Regions from separate parts of the Homo sapiens genome. Here regions 1, 2, 4 and 5 are each linked to region 3. The links are contacts of gene promoters, found by promoter capture Hi-C in blood cells and fetal thymus (Javierre and others, 2016). All regions are on one chromosome and are shown on one strand. Each heading gives the region's core, a stretch centred on a gene start or on the middle of the fragment in contact. The rest is flanking DNA. Distances are from core to core; before and after follow the strand shown. Region 1 has its middle 19 kb from the start of BTNL9. Region 2 overlaps BTNL9 (butyrophilin like 9). Region 3 holds the start of OR2Y1 (olfactory receptor family 2 subfamily Y member 1). Region 4 has its middle 14 kb from the start of TRV-CAC1-2. Region 5 holds the start of BTNL9 (butyrophilin like 9).

Region 1 (4,504 bases), core at 218-2,717, 280 kb before region 3:
AGTCCCATCACTTAACACTGTTACAATGGCAATTAAGTTTCAACATGAATTTTGGCAGGGACATTTAAACTATAGCACAGTATATAGTTGGGCCTTTTTAAAAAAATTCATTCAGCCATTACTTTTTTTGAATGGAGAATTTAATTCATTTTCATTCAAAGTAAATACTGTTAAGTATTTACTATTACCGTTTTGTAATTTTTGTTTTGTAGATCCTTTTTTTCTTTCTTTCTTTTTTAGTCTCCCTTTGTAGTTTTATAGTTCTTTTGTAGTGGTATACTCTGAATCCTATTTATGTTTTGTTTTGTGCATCTACTATGTGTTTTTGCTTTGTGGTTATCATGAGGTTTAACTAAAATATCTAACAGTTGTACATTTTTGTCCCCTACACACACACATTTTATCTTTTGATATCAGAATTTATGTAATCTTGTAATTTGTATTCCTTAACAATTTATTTTTTAATAGTTTTGTCTCTTAACCGTCATACTAGAGATAAAATTGCTTTAACACCACCTTTCTAGTCCTAGAGTTTTCTGAATATGACTCGGTTACCAGTACCATTGTTTTGTGCTTTCATGTGTTTTATGGTATTCATCAGTGGCCTTTCATTTCAGTGTAAAGCACTCTCTTTCCTGTAAGTCAGGCATAGTAGTGATGAATTCTCTTAGCTTTTGTTTGTCTGGGAAAGATCTCTCAGCACAAACACTACTGAGGAGAGAGTGGGATGATACATTCAAAGTGAAGAAAAAATAACCAAGAATACTTTACCCAGAAAAGTTGTCCTTTAGAAATGAGAGAGAAATAAAATCTTTCCCAGACAAACAAAAGCTAAGAGAATTCATCACTACTGTGCCTTAGGAGAGAGTGTGATGATACACTCAAAGTGAAGAAAAATAACCAAGACTAGTTTACCCAGCAAAGTTGTCCTTTAGAAATGAGGGAGAAATAAAATATTTCCCAGACAAACAAAAGCTAAGAGAATTTATCACTACTATGCCTGACTTACAGGAAAGAGAGTGCTTTACACTGAAACGAAAGGCCACTCCCTCATTTCTAAAGGACAACTTTGCTGGGTAAAGTATTCTTGGTTATTTTTTCTTCATTTTGAATGTATCATCCCACTCTCTCCTCAGCAGTATTTCTGCTGAGAGATCTGCTGATGGCTGTATTGATATTTCCTTGTATGTGGTATGTTTCTAATCTCTTTGCTTTGAATTTTCCTTTGCTTTTTGGTAGTTTGACTATTATGTGTCTTGGTGAACTCTTCTTCAGTTTAAATTTAATTGGGGACCCCTGAGCTTCCTGTACCTGAATGTTGGTATCTCTTCCCAGATTTGGGATGTTTTTAGCCATTATTTCTCGTAACATTTTTTCTCATCTTTTTTATTTCTCTTCTTCTGCAACTCCTATTATGCAAAAATTAGTTTTCTTGATGGTATTCTATAACTCATGTAGTCTTTCTTCATTTTTATTCTTTTTCTTTTTGCTCTTCTGACTGGATAATTTTTAAAATTTCTGTCTTTGAGCTCATCAGTTCTTTATTTGCCCTGATTGAGTCTGCTGTTGAAGTTTTCTGTTGACTTTTTTTGGTTCAGTCATTGTATTCTTAATCTCTAGGATTTATATTTGGTTTCTAAAAATTGTTTCTATTTCTTGGTTTATTGATCTATTTTTTCCAAATTTTATTTAATTTTTTATCTGTATATTCTTATAGTTCATTGAAATTCTTTAAGAGAATTGTCCTGATTTTTTTTGCCAGTCATTACATAAATCTACATTCCTTTATAGTTCATGCTTCCCTCTTTCTAATCCTTATGTCCCCGTGTTGGCATCTGTACATTTGAGGAGACTGCCACCTCTTCCAGCCTTTACAGGTATTCATTCACAGGAATTAACCTTCACTGTTTAGTTTAGCCTGTGATTCTGGATGGGCCAGCTGGTAGTGACCACAGGCAGGTAGAGCTTGCTGTTGAGTTCTCTAGTTGGGTGGGCTGATGCCTTTTATCTGAGGTCAAGTGGGGCTCCTGGCTGGGCTCTACTGTCCAGCGAGACCACTGGCTAGGCTCTGCGATCACGTGGAACTGCTGACTGGGCACTGCAGTTACCACTAATGAGGCCAGGTCACAGCATATATTCCCTGGCCAAGCAGTTTTGCTATTTGAGTTCTGCAGTTGGACAGGACTGCAGGATGGACCCAAAGGCAAGGCAGAATGCTGCTCAGGATGAACTAGACTAGAGGCTGTGCTCAGTAAACATGCATGATATGGGCTTGCTCTCCAGCTTTGGGGTGAGCTCTGGGGTTGGTTCAAACTGCTCTGTGGTCTCCTGTGTTGGGCAGGTCCAGCCCCTGTGCTCTGTAAAAATGTGTGGTGGCAGGTATCTCCCTGCTTGGGCAGAGCCTTGGGTGGGCTTTGTAGCTGGGTCAAGTGTCTGTTTGGCCTCTCATGTCAAGTACATGTGGCCCTTGTGCTTTGCCTAAACACACTGTGGTGGAAATTTTCATGCCTGAGTAAGGCCTTGGCATGGGCTGAGGCTGGTCACGGAGGCTGGCCATCTAGGTACTCAAGCCAGTTTGAACAACTTCTGGGAGAAACTAGCTGAGGTTTGTGGGTGGATTCTGCCATTGGCTGGCACTTCTGACTGGGCACCATCACTGGCAGGAACACAGAGCTACCCGAACAATCCATGTTACCATCACTGTGACCTCTGCTTCACTTCTTTGTTTCCACCTGACCCACGACAGTCTAGTCTTGCCCATACTTTCAGTGTTCCCCGTGAGAAAGGGCCAGAGTGGTAGGCCTCCTGGGAAGCATTTTAGAATGCTAGGGAAGCTGGATGTCTGCCTCTGGCCCTCTTCTCACTGTAGAAATTACGCATCAAAGTGAATCTTCTCTGTGTGGTGCTGTGTGGAGTTGGGGGAGGGGGAGGAGCAACGTGGTCAAAGCGAGACCATACCTCTTACCCTTCTAATATGGTTTTTATTTGGCTCTGTGGTCCACATAGTTGTCTCAGGCTCATTCCCAAGTTTTGGAGTTTTCACAGAGGTGTTCTTGTCTGTGGATGGTTTCTAGTTGAACTTTATGTTGGGGGAGAAGTGAAGCATGGGACTTCCTATTCTGCCATCTTGCTGATATCGCTCTCTAGCCTAACTCCTGATTTGGGACCTACAACACAGCTCCCTACCCACTACCCTAAGGGGAAAACTCAGAGGAAGGCCCCAGGAGGCAGGGTCCTTAGAGCCTCCAATAGCTAATTTCTACAGAGATTTGACCCTGACACTATCCTGGGTCTCAGTAACAGCCACCAGGACCTGTGTTCCTGTATATAGCTGCTTTGATTTGTTTTATTCACCTTTGTTATGAAAAGCAACATGGAGGTTGGGATTTTTGAGGGGAGAGGTTCATTATATTGGCACTCATTGGTTCTATTTTGACTACCATATTATGTAATATTAACTTTTTACTGTTTCTTATTCATAATTTTCGTCCTTATTTACTTTGGGTGGCACAGTGAATGACATCCTTCAGTTATGATTAAAGATAATTGCTCTAATATTGGAAGTTAGGGATTTTTTAAAAGCCTTGTTTCATTACTATTTGATGTGTGCTAACACTAGTTGAATCTCTGAAACTGTTTCACATTTCCTGGTTTCCACTGCCATTATAATGAACTGAAACACCGATGAATCATGTTTTTCATTAAGCTTTTCATTTGGAGATAATTGTACACTTAAAGTTGCTTTTTAAATGATAGTTTTTATTTTAAAACAATTTTAGACTCACTGGAAGTTGCAAAAATAATACAGAGTCTTGAGTACCTCCAAGTAAGCTTTCTCCAATGGTAATATCAGACATAGCTATGGAACAAGACCAAAATTGGGAAATTGACATTGATACAATTAATTGGATTACAGGCCTAATTCATATTTTACTAGTTCATATATGTGCTCATTATAACATATGTATGTCTGTAGTTTTTCACAATTTTATTACATGTATAGATTCATAAAACCACCATCATAATCAAGATGCTGCTCCATCACCATGTAAGAACTCCGTCATGCTGTACCACTATGGTCAAACCCTCCATCCGCTTCACTAATCCCTGGCAACAACTTATGTTTCCTCCATCTCTGTAGTTTTATCATTTTGGAATCATACATTATGTAACCTTTGAGACTGACTTTTTTCACTCAATAAAATGTCCGTAAAATTCATCCAGACTGTCGTATGTATCGAGAGTTTGCTCCTTTTTATTACTGAGTAGTATTCTATCTATAGCTGCAATTAGACATTTTCTTGCAGTTATGGGGAGATCTCCTCCCCATCGTCCAATAACAGGAAAACCATTCACAGGGTTTTCTTCTTGTAAAACCCTGTGAATTTTCACTACATCACTCCCTGGGGCTGAGGACTGATGGGTTGATCACCTCTTCCCACCTAGTGTCTTCCTGAGATGCTACACAAAAGGCCACATCCCTTTCCCCCTCTTGAGAATGTCT
Region 2 (4,641 bases), core at 340-2,839, 320 kb before region 3:
TTCTGAATATCATGTGTTAATTAAGGGGAATAGCTTTCTCCCAACAGGTGACCAAGAATATTTTCATAAGCTTAAAATGCACTTATCTGACTTGATGGAGAAACAAATTACAATCTCCCTCTAGAATTGCACAAACAATGGTCTCTGGAGCTGGCATCTCATGAGAGCTGATCATGGGTGTCTCTTCCTGCTATGGTCTGAATGTGTCCCTCTCCACCATGCCCCACTCACATGTTGAAATCGTAACACCCAATGCAATGTAGTAGGAGGTGGGACTTTTGGGAGGTGCTTAGGTCATGAGGGTGGAGTCCTTATGATGGGATTAATGCACTTGTAAAAACAGACCTGTTAGAGGCTGGGTGGCTCACGCCTTTAATGCCAGTCCTTTGGGAGGCCGAGGAGGACAGATCATGAGGTCAAGAGATCGAGACCACCCTGGCCAACATGGTGAAACCCTGTCTCTACTAAAAATACAAAAATTAGCTGGGTGTGGTGGTGCATGCCCGCAGTCCCAGCTACTCTGGAGGCTGAGGCAGGAGAATCACTTGAACCCAGGAGGTGGAGGTTGCTGTGAGCTGAGATCGCGCCACTGCACTCCAGCCTGGCGACAGAGTGAGACTGTCTCAAAAACAAAAAACAAACAAAAAAAACAGAAACAGACCCTGGTAGGGGCTGGATGAGGTAACTTATGCCTGTAATCTCAGCAGTTTGGGAGGCTGAGGTAGGTGGGTCACTTGAGGCCAGGAGTTCCAGACCAGCCTGGGCAACATAGCAAGACCCTGTCTCAATTTAAAAGACAAAAATATAAACGGACCCTGGAGAACTCTCTTGCTGTCTGCCATGTGAGGATACAAAGCAAAGCAGCAGTTTGCAACCCAGAAGAGAACCCTCGCCAACCCTGACCGTGCTGGGACCCTGATCCTGGACTTGCAGCCTCCAAAACTGTGAGAAATAAATTTCTGTTGTTTACAAGCCACTCCGTGTATGGTATTTTGTTACAGCAGCGAGAGCTGACTAAGGCACTTCTTCCGTGTGTGGTATTTTGTTACAGCAGCGAGAGCTGACTAAGGCACTTCCTCCATGTGTGGCATCTTGTTACAGCAGCGAGAGCTGACTAAGGCACTTCCCCCGTGTGTGGCATCTTGTTACAGCAGCGAGAGCTGACTAAGGCACTTCCCAGTCTGCCCTCAGTGGTGTCACATCTTTAGCTTGAAATCAACCATAGTGGGAGGACTTGCACCAGGGAAATTGGCTCAATATTTTTTTTTTCAGAAAGCCAGTTTTTTTTTTTTTTTTTTTTTTTTTTGAGACAGAGTCTCACTCTGTCGCCCAGGCTGGAGTGCAGTGGTGCAATCTCGGCTCACTGCAAGCTCCGCCTCCCGGGTTCACGCCATTCTCCTGCCTCAGCCTCCCGAGTAGCTGAGACTACAGGCACCCGCCACCGCGCCCAGCTGATTTTTTATATTTTTAGTAGAGACGGGGTTTCACCGTGTTAGCCAGGATGGTCTTGATCTCCTGACCTTGTGATCCACCGCCTCGGCCTCCCAAAGTGCTGGGATTGCAGGCATGAGCCACCGCGCCCAGCCTAGAAAGCCAGTTATTAAACATTTATCAGACACCACTGCATTTCTTTATCATTCTCTCTCTCTTTTGTTTATATTACTATATGTCTTAATGAACCATTTGAAAATAAGGTATAAACATCATAATCCTTTACCCCTTAATATGTAAGTGTGCATTTTCTTAAAAGCATTCTTCTACATCAAAATGAGGAAATTAACATTTATCCAATATTATTATCTAATCCACACACCTCTTTCAAAATGCCCTTTTTTCCCCCAATAATCTCCCCCCGCCGGACTCGAGCAATCATTCCACCTTAGCCTCCGAAAGTGCTGGGATTACAGGCCTGAGCCAATTTGTCTGGCCCAGTGATGTTTTTTATAGATCCAGGATCCCATCCAGGGTCACCTGTTGCACTTAGTTGTCCTGTTTCCTTTAGTCTGAAGCAGTTCCTTAGTGTTGTCCCGTCTTTCATGACCTTGACATTGTTGAAGAGTACCAGTCAGTTTCTGTGATGTTTCCTCCTGATTTATGCATTTTTGGGTGCAGGAATACCTCAAAAGTGATGCCGTTTGTATTCTGCATTGTATCAGGAAGAATGTGATGTAAACTGTTTTCGCATCTGGTGATGTTAACTTTTGTCATTTGGCTAAGGTGGCGCCTGCCAGCCTCCTCCACTGTAAAGTTAATTGGTACGTGTTTTGTACTTATGAGTTAAGAAGTAATATTTTCAGACTCCTATTGTAGGGCAGAGCTTTCTCTTCTCTCCATGAATTTGTTTATGTATGTATGTATGTATGTATGTATATCAGTGGGGAAATATACATATGGATTCCTATTTGATTCAGGGGTTCAAAATCCATTCTGACGTCTAAATCCATTCGACATGGCTCTTCTGTGCAACCTACTTCCTTATTTTCTGGTGTAGGATATTGTAGGCTCTCCTTGTATTTTCCCTGCCCCAGCCTTGGACTCAACCATTTCTCCAAGGAGACTTTATTCCTTTTACTGAAAATCGTACTAAAAACTAAGTTCTGGGTCTCGGTGTGCCCGTTGGTACTGGGGTGTTATTGTTGCTAAGCCTTCAAACAAGACAGAGCTGGGAACGATCTGCATGCACCCACACATATCTGTGTATCTGTCCACGTGTGTGCGTGCATTCCATCTCTCTACATGCAGTAAAACCCACGCATTCACATTGATACATCTCATTCCAGTCCACCTCAGAGTCACCCTCATCCTCTCCTTTCCCCTTTCCGTATTTCGTATTTCCCTTCACTGACAGCGAAACCCGACTCTCAGCGCACTTAGTGAATTCCCGACTCTCAGCGCCACTTAGTGAATTTTTTTATTTGTGCCACCTCCCTCTGGTACGTAACCGAACTCCCGGGCCTGTGGGGCGAAAGCTCATCCCAGAGGTGTCCCTGCCCCATCCGTTCCCATCCTGGTGCTAAAGGCCCTAGTAGAAATCTCAGTCCCCATGAAGAGGAAAAGAAAAGGAGAGGGAAAGAGGGAAGAAGGAGGAAAGACCAGTTAGAAAGCTTGGCTGCGGACCAGTCTCCCTTCCTCATTCCCCCTTTCAAACAAGACGGGCAAGGAAAGCTCTGCCTGGATTAAGGGGAAGGGGATGAGAGCCATATTTACTTACTCTGAAACAATGGCCTAGGAGATCGTCCAGCAGTTTCATTATAGCTCCTTTCAAATGAATGATTTTGAATATGAGTATTTAAAAAAAGTGTTTTCCCCTTTATTACAGAACTGATACATATACATTATTGAACATTAAAAAATACAAAGAAGACATTTTAAGAATGCAATTACCAAACATTTTCCCATCCAAAGATAATCACTTAGTTTTTTGGTGTATCCTTCTCCCCGCCACCCAACTCTTAGTTTGCAAAATTTCAAACCCACAGCAAAGCCACATTGATAGTACAATGAACATCTGTCGACCAGTCACCTAGAGTCACCAAGTGTTGTCATTTTACTACATTTGACTTGTCTCTTTCTTTCTTTATATTCATATGTTTTATATTTTTCCACTTAGTCACTGGAAATTCAGTGGCAGACACTGTGGTAATTAATATCTAAAAACTTCAGTATGTTTGCTAAGAACAAGAATGTTCTCCTACATAGCCACAGTACAAATGTCTCACTCTGAAAATGAAGCCAGGCACAGCGGCTCATGCCTGTACACCCAGCATTTTGGGAGGCCCAGGTGGGAGGATTGCTTGAGCGCAGGAGTTTGAGACCAGCCTGGGTAACAAAGTGAGACCCCCGTCTCTATAACGCACTTAAAATTGGGCATGGTGTTGTGTGCTGAGGTGGGAGGATCACTTGGACCCAGGAGGTTGAGGCTGCACTCCAGCCTGGCCGACAGAGACAATGTCTTGGGGGTAGGGGGTGAAGAACACTTCTTTCCCCAGTTGTCAAACTAATAATGTCCTTGGTCCCATCATTGATGATGTTAAATTTAATCACTTGGATGATCTGGTAGATGTCTCCATTGTAAAGGTAACCTTTCCCCTTTCAAACTTATAAGTAGTGTATAAGGTTACTGCTTTGAGACTGGAAACAGCCTGTTCTCCAAGACTCTCACCAATAATTAGATTTCACCTCCAAAAGAAACCTTCCTGTTTCTCCTTTTTAAAAAGAAATTTGAGTATCAGCATGAACTCATGGATTATGTTTTTATTCAGTGTGTTATAATCTCTCCTGTCATTATTCATCCTGATGTTCAAATTGTCCCACAATTGGTCAGTGAGGCCCCTTCGGCCTGGCTCCCTACCCTTTTGCCGGGTTGCCGTCACGTTTTGAGCCTTTATTTTACTTCACCACACACAATGCTCCAGGCTCACCTTGAAATTTTTGCCCCGGCTCCAGAAGCAGCTGTTCCTCCAACTTCATTTTAATGGGAAATGGTTTTTAAAACTAGGATCTGAGCCTTACTTAGGTGAACTCGTTGCTTACGAAGTGTTATTGCATCTCGACCTTTTTAGAGCTAGCAAACATATACAAAAAATATAAAACTATACAAATTAACTGATCCCTCTAAGGCAGTCACCAAAGTTTTCTCCC
Region 3 (4,306 bases), core at 270-2,769:
ACAAAAAGAGGACAGAGTTAATTTGGCAAAAATTGTTCATATAGAGCATATTCTAGGCTCCTTTTCCCTTTTTTGCTTTCTGACATACTTTCTTATAATCCTACTTAGACGTTTTGTCATAAGAAATGTGAACTTTAACGTAGAGCAAATTTTTATGCATATCTCACTTTCACAGTTTATCAAAATATGTTGGTAATCTCAGGTTTTCTAGAAGAAATAAATTTTGATGAGATTTGAAGGGATAACCTCATGTTTCACTCAATGAAATTTATTCAAAATCTACTATGTGCCCTGAATGAAAATATTAATTTAGCACTTTGTGTGTAGCATAAAGAAAGACACTACTTTTTTTTTTCTTTTTCTTTTTTTGAGTGCAGTGGCACAATCTTGGCTGACTGCAACCTCCGACTCCCAGGTTCAAGCAATTCTCCTGCCTCAGCCTCCTGAGCAGCTGGGATTACAGGTGCCCATCACCAAGCCTGGCTATTTTTTTGTTTTGTTTTGTATTTTTAGTAGAGACAGTGTTTCTCCATGTTAGCCAGGCTGGTCTCAAACTCCTGACCTCGGGTGATCCACCCACTTCCACCTCCCAAAGTGCTGGGATTACAGACGTGAACCACCGTGCCCCACTGAAAGACACTAATATTTATTTTACGTTCATTATGTTAGCTACCACTAAGGAGCTCACAGCTCAGAGAGGGACAAAGACATACAAAAAGAATTCCAGCGAGTGTGACAAGTGCAGAAAGAAACTGTACAAAGAGGGTTGGGCTAGAGAGGAGGAAATAACTCTTCTTGGGCAGCTGAGGAATGGATTTAGCCATTGAAGGGAGTGTGTATGTGCGTGTGTGCGTGTGTGTGTGGTATTTCAGGCATGATGACACACCATAGGAAATATATTTGTTGCTAATTGATTTTTTTTTCTTCTCCAAAAGGAGGGATCTACACTCTTCTCAGTCATTTGCTGGTCGTGCGTGGGGTTTCTGGGATTGTATGGGCTGTCCATAGTCGAAAAAAGCAGGTGGGCACCCAGAGGTCAAACAGGGCTCCCAGCCTGGTTAGGCATGGGGGGTAACCCTACTGAAAGAGGCCACCTGCTAGACCAGCAAAGGAGCAAATGGGAGCAACATAGAATAGTAATGCTACCTGTTACATCTGAGTCTTTTAAAAGCAGCTTCCACATTATTGCATTTGACCTTAATCTCATTGCTGTGATACATCATCTCTACTTTTAGGCAAGGAAATGTTGGATCTAAAGGACTGACTGACCTGGGTGAAGTCCTGGAACAAACAGGCAGCAGGACTAGGATTCAAACAAAGGCCATATGATTCCCAAGCCAGTGATTTCCACTCTGAATAAGAGAAGGGAAAGAACACCAGACACAACAAACTGCAGAGCAAAATAGGTAATAAAATGCATGATTTAGTATTCAGGGAATCCTGCGAAATAATGTTGTAGCTTGTGCTCAGTATAGGAGGCATTGCACTTCCTTCTGCTGTTCAGACAGGCAAAAGGCCATGGGAAGTTTCAACACCAGTTTTGAAGATGGCTTCATTTTGGTGGGATTCTCAGATTGGCCGCAACTGGAGCCCATCCTGTTTGTCTTTATTTTTATTTTCTACTCCCTAACTCTCTTTGGCAACACCATCATCATCGCTCTCTCCTGGCTAGACCTTCGGCTGCACACACCTATGTACTTCTTTCTCTCTCATCTGTCCCTCCTGGACCTCTGCTTCACCACCAGCACCGTGCCCCAGCTCCTGATCAACCTTTGCGGGGTGGACCGCACCATCACCCGTGGAGGGTGTGTGGCTCAGCTCTTCATCTACCTAGCCCTGGGCTCCACAGAGTGTGTGCTCCTGGTGGTGATGGCCTTTGACCGCTATGCTGCTGTCTGTCGTCCACTCCACTACATGGCCATCATGCACCCCCATCTCTGCCAGACCCTGGCTATCGCCTCCTGGGGTGCGGGTTTCGTGAACTCTCTGATCCAGACAGGTCTCGCAATGGCCATGCCTCTCTGTGGCCATCGACTGAATCACTTCTTCTGTGAGATGCCTGTATTTCTGAAGTTGGCTTGTGCGGACACAGAAGGAACAGAGGCCAAGATGTTTGTGGCCCGAGTCATAGTCGTGGCTGTTCCTGCAGCACTTATTCTAGGCTCCTATGTGCACATTGCTCATGCAGTGCTGAGGGTGAAGTCAACGGCTGGGCGCAGAAAGGCTTTTGGGACTTGTGGGTCCCACCTCCTAGTAGTTTTCCTTTTTTATGGCTCAGCCATCTACACATATCTCCAATCCATCCACAATTATTCTGAGCGTGAGGGAAAATTTGTTGCCCTTTTTTATACTATAATTACCCCCATTCTCAATCCTCTCATTTATACACTAAGAAACAAGGACGTGAAGGGGGCTCTGTGGAAAGTACTATGGAGGGGCAGGGACTCAGGGTAGGAGGTGAAAAAATGAGCAGTAAAATTTTCTGTAATAGCTCTTCAATCACAGATCTTTCCCTGTTCCTTGGAGGGCAGTTGGTCAGTAGGAAAGCCCTCAGTCATCCTCAGAATTGGTTTTTGTTTTTGTTTTTTGGTGGCGGGGGGAACAGAGTTTCACTCTTGTTGCCCAGGCTGGAGTGCAGTGGCACGATCTTGGCTCACTGCAACCTTGGATTCCTGGGTTCAAGTGATTCTCCTGCCTCAGTCTCCCGAGTAGCTGGGATTACAGGCACCCACCACCACGCCCTACTAATTTTTGTATTTTCAGTAGAGACAGAGTTTCACCATGTTGGCCAGGCTGGTCTCGAACTCCTGACCTCAGGTGATCCACTCGCCTCAGCCTCCCAAAGTGCTGGGATTACAGGTGTGAGCCACCGCGCATGGCCGTCCTCAGAGTTTTAGTCCCTTCCTTGTTTAGAAACTGGAAGTAGGGATCTCTTGGGACTCTTTCTTGCTCAGTGTCTGTGATCACTGTGCAGCCATCAGTAAGTGCTGGTTTTTATCACAACTTTCCAAAGGAACCAGCTTGAGAAGAGGGTGTATTGTGTCCACTTATGGAGAGTGGGATGGGTTCTAGGCAAGACTGAGAGTGATAGAAGATTTAATAGGGAATGACAACACCTTCCCAAGGTCAATGACTCCCAACGTGGTGCCATGCAGATGCACTGTGCCCAGAGGCAGACAGAATGAGTTCCCCCGATTCTAAGTAACTGCGACCCTGCCGTAGACGCTCACATCTCAGAACCCATTTCTAAGGTCTCTAACAGAGGTTATTCATGTCCGATATTTGGAGCAAATAAGGAGATCATAAACAGAGGTACTTCAAGGAGCATGCAGAGTTTCAGGTTTGGATGTCATTTACACACTTGAAGAAAAAGACAAAATCACTAGGGTGGCATTGAGTAAAGGGAGCATAGACTCTTACTAGCTACAACAGGAGTCTCTGTCATGCAGCTTGGTGCCATGGATAAGATATTTTCCATGCAAGAGAGAAGATAATAGAGAAGAAATGAACATATGAATAATGAGCCAAGAGGAATAGATATAGAAAAGAAGAAGGGATAAGGAGGAGTGACAACAATGAAAAAAAGAGATTTCTGTGGAAGGCAGTGGTGGGAGGCTCAAGAGGCTGAAGTGTGAAGACAATGAAAAAAAGAGACTTCTGTGGAAGGCAGTGGTGGGAGGCTCAAGAGGCTGAAGTGTGAAGACAATGAAAAAAAGAGACTTCTGTGGAAGGCAGTGGTGGGAGGCTCAAGAGGCTGAAGTGTGAAGACAATGGGTACCGGATATTCCAGCACTGTCACTGCATCCCACATTCTTGGCTTCATATCAAAGCGTGGCGTCCTTATTAATCAACTTTCACGGTCTTGGTAAATTTCATGTTGAGGGAATCATCTTTTATTCCAATAACAATAACTAATATTTGTTTATATCTGAAAAACCTTTTTGCATACAATGTTATTAGTCCTTACAGCTGTATTGTGAGAGTGAGTTTTGTTATAGTCCCTATTTATTCACAAGAAACTGAGGTTCAGAGAGTTTAAGTCACCCAAGTTCACATAGCAAATATGGGGTGAAGCTGAGATCTAGGTTTCTGAAACCCTAAATCCAACGCTTACTACAACATCCTCCTAATTCTCTTTTTCTGGAAGGACATTTTTAACAGGGAAAGATTGAGTTTGGACAGAAGGGTGGCTGGAGAGAGAATCAAGTGTGAGCTTAGTGTACTTTCATAGTTTTGCTTCGGTTAATTCTGGCCAGGGTTCTAGACTCATCTGAGTTACAAATTCTTTGGTCAGAAGGCTTTTTTT
Region 4 (4,617 bases), core at 1,672-4,171, 340 kb before region 3:
GTGTCTCGTCTGTGTTCACACTGGATCCTTGGCCCCCAGGCACAGGGCCTGGTGCTTTCTAGGCTTTGGGAACACAAGTTAAGTCCTGAAACAGATGGATTTGCCAAGTACCGGCTGCTAGGTGAAGCCTCTTCTCTGAAGGTGGGATCCAAGTGGTCCACCGGGCCCTCTGCTGTGTCTGAGGTCTGGTGAGCCCAGCGGCACTCTGTGTCCACCTTGCCAGATTCTTCAGAGCTGTTTGAGCTGCCACATGGCTCCCTGCAATCCTCCCCCTTTGCAGTCAGAACCACTGCCGTGTTTCTCTCCGAATTCTGTGGTGACTCCCTCTTCCCATAGTTCTGGAACGATTTATGAGTGGTTGTGAGTATGGGGCCATGGGATCCTAGCCCTCCTTCCTCTAAGCTTTTGGAAAGCTGCTTTCCCCAAATTTGGCTACCATTTGTCTTATTAATAGACTTTATTTTCTGGATCACTTTTGGGTTTACAGAAAATTGAGCTGACAGTACAGAAAGTTCCTATTTACCCTTTTTTTCCCCAACTCCCAGTTTTCCATTATTAACATCTTGAATTAGTATGGTACTTTTGTTAGAACTGATGAACCTGCGTTGATACGCTAGTATTAACTAAACAAGTATTAACTAAACTCCGTGGTTTACATTAGAGTTTATTCTTTTGTTACAAAGTCTTTTGCTAAGTGCAAAATGCCATGTATCCACCATTATAGTATCATACAGAATAGTTTCAATGCTCAGACCATCTCTTGCACTCTACCTATTATCCATGCATTTTCCTTGAACCGGGGCAACCGCGGATCTTTTTACTATTTCTATAATTTTGCGTTTTCCAGTATTTCGTGTAATTGAAACTATACAGTATGCAGTTTTTAGACTGGCTTCTTTCCCTTAGTAACATGCATTTATGGTTCCTCCGTGTCTTTTCATAGCTTGAGAGATCATTAATTTTATTGCTGAATAATATTCCATTATGAGGACAGAGCACAATGTGTTGATTCACCTTTTGAAGTGTATCTTGGTTACCTCCAGTTTTTGGCAATTATGAATAAAGCTACTATAAACATTCATGTTCAGATGCTTATATGGGCAAATGTTTCAACTCATTTGAGTAACTACCTAGGAGCATAATTGCTGGCTCATATGGCAAGGTTATGTTTAGCTGTGTAAAAAGCTGTCAGACTGTCTTCAGGTGACTATCGCTTGCCCCGTGCATGTCAGCATTTGGTGTTTGTCATTGTTTTAGATTTTAGCCATTTTTACATGTAGTGAAATCTCATTGTTTTAATTTGCAATTCTCTAATAATGAATGATATCAAGCATCTTTTCATATGTTCATTTGCCATCTGTACATTTTCTTTGGTGAGACGTCTCTTCAGATCTTTTGATCATTATTTTTATTCTTTGAGACAGAGTCTTGCTCTGTTGCCTAGGCTGGAGAGCAGTGGTGTAATCATAGCTCACTGTAGCCTCCAATTCCTGGGCTCAAGCGATCCTCCCTACTCAGCCTCCTGAGTATCTGGGACCACAAGCATATGCCACCATGCCCAGCTAATTTTTTATTTTTTTGTAGACCTGGGGTCTCGCTGTGTTGTGCAGGCCAGTCTCAAACTCCTGGCTTCAAGCAATCCTCCCGCCTCAGCCTCCCAAAGTGCTGGGATTACAGGTGTGAGCCACCACACCAGCCTGCATATTTTTTAATTGAATTGTTTTCTTATTGTTCAGTTTTTTTTGTTTTGTTTTGTTTTATTTTATGAGACAGAATCTTGCTCTTTCACCCAGCTTAAAGTACAGTGGCATGATCATGGCTTGCTGCAGCTTGCAACTCCCGGGCTCAAGTGTTCCTCCTGCCTCAGCCTCCTGAGTAGCTAGGACTATAGGCAAGTGTCACCACACACAGCACATTTAAAAAAAAAAATTTTCTCCCTATGTTTCTCAGGCTGATCTGGAACTCCTGGGCTCAAGTGAACCTTCCAACTCAGCCTCCCTAAGTGCTGGTATTGCTGGTTAATACAAGTGCCTCGTTAGATATGTATTCAGCAAATATTCTCTCCCGGTCTGTGCCTTGTCATTCCATTTCCCTAACAATGTCTTTGCAGAGCAGAAGTTTTTAAGTTCAGTGAAGTCCAACATACCCGTTTTTCTTCATAGATCATGGATCATGCTTTGAAAAACTTCCCCAGATTTTCCCCGGGTTCTCTTGTAAAAGTTTTGTAGTTTTGCATGTTAAATTTAGGTCTATAATCCATTTTGAGTTCATTTCTGTGAGAGGTGTAAGATCAGTGTCTGGATTCATGTTTTTTTCCTTTTTTTTTTTTTTTGGCACATGCATGCCTAAATATTCCAGCATCATTTCTTGAAAAGACCATACATTATCTGTTGAATTGCTTTTAATTCCTGTCAAAATATCAGTTAAGTATATTTGTGTGGATCTGTTTGTTCTCTATTCTTCTTCATTGATCTAGCTGTCTATTCCTTTGCCAACACTATACTTTCTTGATTATTGTAGCTTTATAGTAAGCCTTTAGGTAGTATTAGTCTTCCAACTTATTTCTTCTTCAATACTGTGTTGGCTCTCCTGGGTCTTTTGCCTTTTCATATAATGTTTAGAATCAGTTTGTCAGTATTTATAAAATAACCTGCTGGGATTTTGATTGGATTACATTGAATCTGTAGATGAAATTAGGAAGGATTGGCATCTTTAAAAGATTGAGCTTTCCTATCCATGAACATGGAATATCTTTCCATTTACTTAGAACTTTTTTTGATTTCATTAGATTTCCTTATATGGACCTTGTACCCATTTTTTTGATTTATTATTAAGTACTTTTTAAGTGCTAATGTTAGTGTTATTGTATTTTTAATTTTTAAATCCCAATTGTTTATTGCTGGCATATAGTAAAGCAATTGACTTTTGTTTATTAACTTTGTGTCCTGTATTTTAAAACTTATGATCTTTAAAATGGAGAGCAACCCTTCAATGATTAGGAGAGACACAAAATAGAAATAAAGATTTTATTACTTATAGGTTCTGGTAGTATATGACATGCTTGGAGGCCCCCCACACAGAGAGGTTAGTTTAGGGAGTACAGGCAGGGAGAAAGAATGCAGAAATTAGAAGTGTATGTTGGAGAATACACTGTGGGTGGCTTTAAGTTCAAGGGCAAATACCTGAATGGTCCATTTAAAGGAAGCGGTGGGAAAGTGGGGAGCCCAGTCAACTAGGCAGAAGAGGTTCCTCCAAGGTTTTTATCCTTGGCCACTGGCTTGGGCCATTAGGGTGTGGTGTTCTTCTAATACGTAGGCAGAAACCTCTGCTGTGTCAATACCATTGAAATTGACCCTGTAATGTCTAGGCATTAGACCTTGTGCCTTATCATGGGTGCCATTTGAGTAGCAGAGACACTAAAGGCTACTGGAGAAACCTGAGTCAGGCATCTGATGAGCATAATTAAACAAGCAGTCCGAAGGTACCCACTATGACTTGAAATCTCACGTGCAGCCATCCATCCCACTACATAGAGTATGCAGGGCTAGTCGAGTGGGCTGTATGTAGCTGTGCCATGCGGAGGTGGGCACCGGGAGGCAGCTGTGCACAGCAGATATCTGGACTGACCACCTTGAGGAACTGGGAGGAGATGTAGAACCTGAAAACTGTGTCAAGGGTGACTGAGCTCTCCTTCCGGCATAGGAAAGTTAAACTTCCCTGAAAAATGGGTGCTGAGGCAACATAAAATTATGATAATTCACTACATAGTAATCTTGCTGTAATCTGGCTGGTGCAGTGGCTGATGCCTGTAATCCCAGCACTTTGGGAGGCCGAGGCAGGCAGATCACCTGAAGTCAGGAATTCACGACCAGCCTTGCCAACATGGTAAAACCTGGTCCCTGCTAAAATGACAAAAATTAGCTGGGCGTGGTGGATCGTGCCTGTAATCCCAGCTACTCTGGAGGCTGAGGCAGGAGAATCGCTTGAACCCAGGAGGCAGAGGTTGCAGTGAGCCAAGATCAAGCCACTGCACTCCAGCCTGGGCAATAGAGTGAGACTCCATCTCAAAAAAAAAAAAAAAAAAGAAAGAAAAGAAAAGAAAAAATCTTGCTATAATCATCTGCTAGTTCAGGAGTTTTTGGTCAATACTTTGGTATTTTCTACATAGACAATCATGTCATCTGTGAAGAAAGACAGTTTCTTTTTTCCCCCTGATCTGTATAGCTTTAATTTCCTTTTTAAAATCTTCTTGCATTAGTTAGGACTTCAGTACAATGTTGAATAAGAATGATAGTAGGGGACATCCTTGCTCCTGATCTTAAGGAGAGAACACCTAGTTTCTCACTAACCATTAAGTATGATGTTAGCTAGTTTTTTTTCTGTGGATGTTTCTGTGTGTGTGTGTGTGTGTGTGTGTGTGTGTGTCTTTCTTTTTAGAGATGGAATCTCTCTATGTTGCCCAGGCTGATCTCAAACTCCTGGCCTCAAGCAATCCTTCTGCCTTGGCCTCCCAAAGTGCTGGGATTTTAGGCATGAACCAGCATGCTCTGCCTATAGATGTTCTTTATCAATTTGAGGAATTCCCCTCTATCCTAGTTTACTGAGAGTTTGTATCAT
Region 5 (4,527 bases), core at 1,498-3,997, 300 kb before region 3:
CCAGTGTTTCCATGGGGGCAGAGCAAAACCTTGGGGATTCTCTAACATAATTTTAAGACTACATTTCACACTTAAATGACCACGTTATGAAACCTGGCAGGAAAATCCATGTTATTAATAAATGCCATGTCTCTTGCTCTCCCAAACACAGGAAGTATTTTTTGCTCTGCATATGTCTGCGGAGACTGTGGGGTCCCAGAGTGGAAAACTTCTCTAGTAACAAAGTACAGAAATTATCCCTGAAGTATAGTCTTTGCTTTGCTACTTCTGTAAGCTGTGTAACTGGTGAATTTTGCCTGTCTCCTGTCCTCCACTCCCCAAGCTGCAAGTCCGCAGGTGTCAGTGGGGCCTTGGCCCTCTCCCACGGGCCTCCCCGACACCCCCTGCAATGCCCTTCCCCCCGGCAGACCCCAGCTAGTGCTCACTGCCTGCGCTGGTTTGATTTCGATAGGTCCACAAGAGGATTTCCACCCTCTTAGTCTCTAAGGAAGATGGACTGCCCCAAGAAGGGAACCGCAATGAGGCTTGAAATCTTTTTCGTCTGGTGGGGGCAATGGGATGTATCAGGATCCTGCCTCCTGAGATGCGGCCCACCTAAACGGGCGTGGACATCTCCTCTTGGCCACACTCGAAACATCCCATGCTGCGGCCAAGCTCGGATAATAAAATGGTGCCACTAATTGTACGCCTTCCCAAAGCCTCCCACCTTCATTTTCTGATTGCCGTTTCTGAAAGATGGAGGTGTAGGCAGCTGTTGAGAATGAGCCACTTACCTGGCAGGTAGCAGCAAAAGGTCTGAAATGGCAGATGAGTCCTGGTGAGCTCACCTCCTCTGCAAAGGGTGATGATTGCTGTAAAGTGTCTTGGTCCCAGATGCTAAGATTCCCTAGACGTGGACTGGCAGCTGAGCTCCAGAGGCCAGGGCACGTGTGACAGAATTATTTATCCATCTTCCACCCTAAGATATATGCCGTTTGCTCTGCCCTTGGCTATGGAAACCAAGATGGATAGAACAAAACAAGGAAGTCGTCACATCCTGTCTCTGAGAAAAATCTTGAATTCCCATGTAAAATATCTCTCCAGGGTCACAGAAGGAGGGGAAAGGTATCTGAGAGCTTTGTAGAGAGCGACAGCTGCAGAGGCTCAAAGTGAGGAGAAAACGCTCCAGCTGGGTTCAGGGTCTTTGTGCCAGTGAAGCTCGGACTCCAAGGAGGCAGGGTAGCAGTCCCCGAACAGTGAAAGAGAGTAGACTGCAGTCTCCACTAACTAACCACGAGGAAGGGGCTGATGACCAATTTTTAACCCACCATAACCTTCTCCTCAGGACAAGGTCAGTAAGGAACAAATCCTGGGGGCATTGTCGTGAGGCAACCTGCAAAACCTGTTCACGTGCAACTTAGAAATGCAGGAGGGTGCTGGATTGGGATTTCTCTAGTGGAGAAGAGGTCAGAAAAGAAGCAGCAAGCACTACCCCAGCCCAGCCCACCCCATCTTACTGTAGGCCATGGTGCAACTTGGGCATTAGCGGACTGAGGCACCAGCCACCCAGCTGCAGCCCACACTGACGTCCCCTCCAGGGAACAGGCCAGAGCTGAGGCACGAGCAGCTCAAGCACATGCAGTGTTGTGGGAAACTGAGGACCGGAGAGACCGATGTGAAGAACAGGAGGATTGTTTATTTTAGGTACACACCGGCTCAGTGGACTCACATCCAAAAAGCTGAGCATTAAACAAAGACAGAGCGGGGTTTTTGTAAGTGGACTTACAATAAATAAAACAAAAGCAGCTAATCATGATAGGTCACATAATCTATAGCATAGCATAACTTGTGGCCTTGCACAGCGGGTGACTTTGTAGCTGCATTGAAAGAAAAACAAGAACTGGCTAAGTACAGACATTTGTAAAACACAATCATGCTTAAGAAGCCTGGGAAAACAGTAACAGTAAAAGAATTTGTCTTTCTCTCTTTTTCCTTCAACCTTGCTCTGGAAGTGGGGCGGCGGGTATCTGGAGCCCATTCCTTTGGCCTTGGCTTTCTGGACACTGTTATAACTGTCCTTGCAGTGGGCTTGCTATAGGCAGAGGAAAACTTGTCCTTTACTTTTTAACCCTTGCCTTGCCTGTTACTTTTCTTGGAGTGAATGAAGGCATATGTATTTTTAAATTTTCTGCCTCAGTAGCACACCCCAGGGACTCCCAGAAGTGCCTGTGTTTGTAGAGGGGCCTCTGCAGGTGACAGGGCGCTACATGGGTGGGAGACGGGAGCCAGCAAGCTTCAGGCATGGACCTGGAGGTGACTGTCTGTGCTCAGACAGGCTGGTGAGACTGGGCACCCAGGCTTATTAATGTGAACAGATGTCCCTAGGACAGCAAAAGGGGCTGAACAGTGAGCTCAAACAGTGGGTGCAGTTCCCCGGGCCTGGGGAGACAGAGGAGGGCTCAAGGACAGGGTATACTTAAGATGGATGCTGCATAAACAGTAGGATCAGGGAAGCCATGGGCAGCCCGGGAGGACAGAGCCTGCGAGGACAGACATTCTTCGTGGAGGGAGGTGATTAGCATGTGGGAGGTAGGAAAAGGCTAGGGGTTAGCCAGACCAGTGTGTGGCTCACTAGTGGAAGGGAAGGTTGAACAGAAGTGGATGGGACCACATTGCAGAGGCCCTTGCATGCCACATAGGGAAGTGAAAGAGAAGGAAAATTGCACTTGTAGAGAGGGGCTGCTCGAAAACGAGAACATGGCCTAAACTTTTCATTGCCCTTAGGTTGGATTCCTCCATGCTGCCTGGGGAGAGGTGAGATTGTCACAGCAGAAATGCAAAGAGAGAGAGAAATGGGCAGAGTCCACTTCTGTGGCTCCTAGACACAGCCCTGGTGGGATGTGGGAGGGGGACCCCACCTGCCACCACCGCCTGCATATCAGGCGCATCATGCAGTAGGAAAGATGTAGACAGCGGCTGTCCCTGCCAGCCGAACCTCCCATTCCAAGACCCAGTAAATGCATAAAGGCTCAGATCCAAAATGAAGGTAGGTGCTGAACCCCTGGCGGACTATAGGTGCCACTGGAGAGAATGGACCCTCATCTGTCCTTGTGTGGGATTTTTGGGTGTCAATTTTCTTCCCAGAAACCTCTGTGGCACCTGAGTTCTTGTCCTGCCTCCAGGAAGAATGAGGTCATGAGGTACACAGACAAGTGAAGGGTGAAGAAGATGCAGAGAAGCTTTATTGAATGCTAGAACAGCTCAGAGGTGATCTGCAGTGAGCTCCTCTCTGTAGGTAAGTCCTCCCCTCCCACTGAGTGTTCAGCTCTCAGCAGAGAAGGCCCTTGAGAGGGTAGCTCCTCTCTGCCCACTGGTCCTCCTGCCACCTGCTGCTCTCAGCAGACAGAAGTCCCTGGAGAGAGTGGCTCCTCTCCACAGGCAAGTTGTTCTGAACACCTCTGCAGGTCTCTGAAGCTCTCAGCAGAGAGGGTAGCTCCTCTCTGCAGCTGGCCATCCCATCGTTTCTCCATCCTCTGCCCTGCTCTGGCTGAGCCTCAGGCTTTTATGCACCTCAGAGGGGAGGAAGTGCATGCTGATTGGTCCATGGGCAGCCAGAGGGAGACACCACAAGTCCCCACTCCAGTCAGAGGGACTGGCAGCCAGGCCTTCAGGCCCTCCCTGGCCTGAAGGCGGGGCCTTACTGGGGACCCGCCTTCTCCCTCCAGGGACTCTGTCTGCCTCCCACTGCCATTTATGGTCCCTGGCTAGGCCCCAACCCCGCTCTGAGAGTGGGAGCAGAGAGAGGCCAGGCAGTGGGAAGCAGACAGCCCTGAGCCTGCAGGGATGGGGGTTGGGGGGCTGGGTACAGGGTGGTTCTTCCCAGGCCCTGGAGGTGCAGAATGCACAGATGCCGGGGTCCTGCTCCTGGGAGGGTGGCCGAAGCTGCACCCGGGGAGCTCCTGCCCCATCAATTCGGAAGGGGCAGGGCTCCTGCTTGTCCTGGCTCCTGCCTCCTCCGTGGAGCAGGAGGCTGAGGTCTGCAGCTGTGGGTTGGGTGGCTGCAGCTGCACGCAGAAGGGCAGATCCTGCCTGCCCCTGGCTCCCACCCAGGAGCTCAGGGAGGCTTGGATCCACAGCTGCAGTTTGGGTGGCTGTAGACCCACACAGGAGGGTTGGGATCCTGCCTGATCTGTACAGCAGGAGGCCTGGGTCTGCAGTCACAGTTTGGGTGACTGCAGCGGTACCCGGGGAGCTCCCGCCCCATCTCAGAAGGGGCAGAGCTCTTACTGGCTCCGTGAAGTATGCAGCCCCAGCCAGGCCTCCCTGCTGCAGCCCCTGTGATGGCAGCGGCCATCACGTGGAGGGAGGTGATTGGCACGTGTGGGGTAGGAAAGGCTAGGGGCTAGCCAGGCCAGCATGGAGCCATCACTTGGACAGCGGAGAACATGCCCCATTATATAGCTTCCGTGGTGCACAGCAGCCCTCACCATGAGGTCGTCTGAGGGAATTCTGGAGGGGCTAATGGGAGAATCCTCATCCCCAGGGCAA

Evidence for each region. The method cuts DNA at HindIII sites, captures the fragments that hold promoters and counts their contacts. A CHiCAGO score of 5 or more calls a contact.
Region 1: a fragment that was not itself captured here is called in contact with the fragment with the promoter of OR2Y1 in region 3 in 1 of 17 cell types (M1 macrophages); the score reaches 5.3 in M1 macrophages.
Region 2: a fragment that was not itself captured here is called in contact with the fragment with the promoter of OR2Y1 in region 3 in 1 of 17 cell types (neutrophils); the score reaches 7.5 in neutrophils.
Region 4: a fragment that was not itself captured here is called in contact with the fragment with the promoter of OR2Y1 in region 3 in 1 of 17 cell types (monocytes); the score reaches 6.8 in monocytes.
Region 5: a fragment that was not itself captured here is called in contact with the fragment with the promoter of OR2Y1 in region 3 in 1 of 17 cell types (monocytes); the score reaches 6.5 in monocytes.

The regions. Positions count from the first base shown.
Region 1 is chr5:181,018,948-181,023,451 of GRCh38, reverse strand. No RefSeq gene overlaps it. Among named protein-coding and RNA genes, the nearest start is that of BTNL9, 19 kb to the left of the region's middle. The HindIII fragment of the contact is 4,483 bases long and covers 1-3,708 here.
Region 2 is chr5:181,060,169-181,064,809 of GRCh38, reverse strand. BTNL9 (butyrophilin like 9) reads right to left here. Exons shown (of 11, transcript NM_152547.5): 11 at 3,289-4,641. Among named protein-coding and RNA genes, the nearest start is that of MIR8089, 19 kb to the right of the region's middle. The HindIII fragment of the contact is 3,034 bases long and covers 73-3,106 here.
Region 3 is chr5:180,737,271-180,741,576 of GRCh38, reverse strand. It overlaps OR2Y1 (olfactory receptor family 2 subfamily Y member 1), which reads left to right and starts at 1,519. Exons shown (of 1, transcript NM_001001657.1): 1 at 1,519-2,454. The coding sequence starts at 1,519. The coding sequence ends at 2,454. The HindIII fragment of the contact is 9,223 bases long and covers 1-4,306 here.
Region 4 is chr5:181,080,318-181,084,934 of GRCh38, reverse strand. No RefSeq gene overlaps it. Among named protein-coding and RNA genes, the nearest start is that of TRV-CAC1-2, 14 kb to the left of the region's middle. The HindIII fragment of the contact is 5,034 bases long and covers 405-4,617 here.
Region 5 is chr5:181,036,679-181,041,205 of GRCh38, reverse strand. BTNL9 (butyrophilin like 9) reads right to left here and starts at 940. Exons shown (of 11, transcript NM_152547.5): 1 at 774-940. RefSeq lists an enhancer at 3,497-4,423. The HindIII fragment of the contact is 946 bases long and covers 2,275-3,220 here.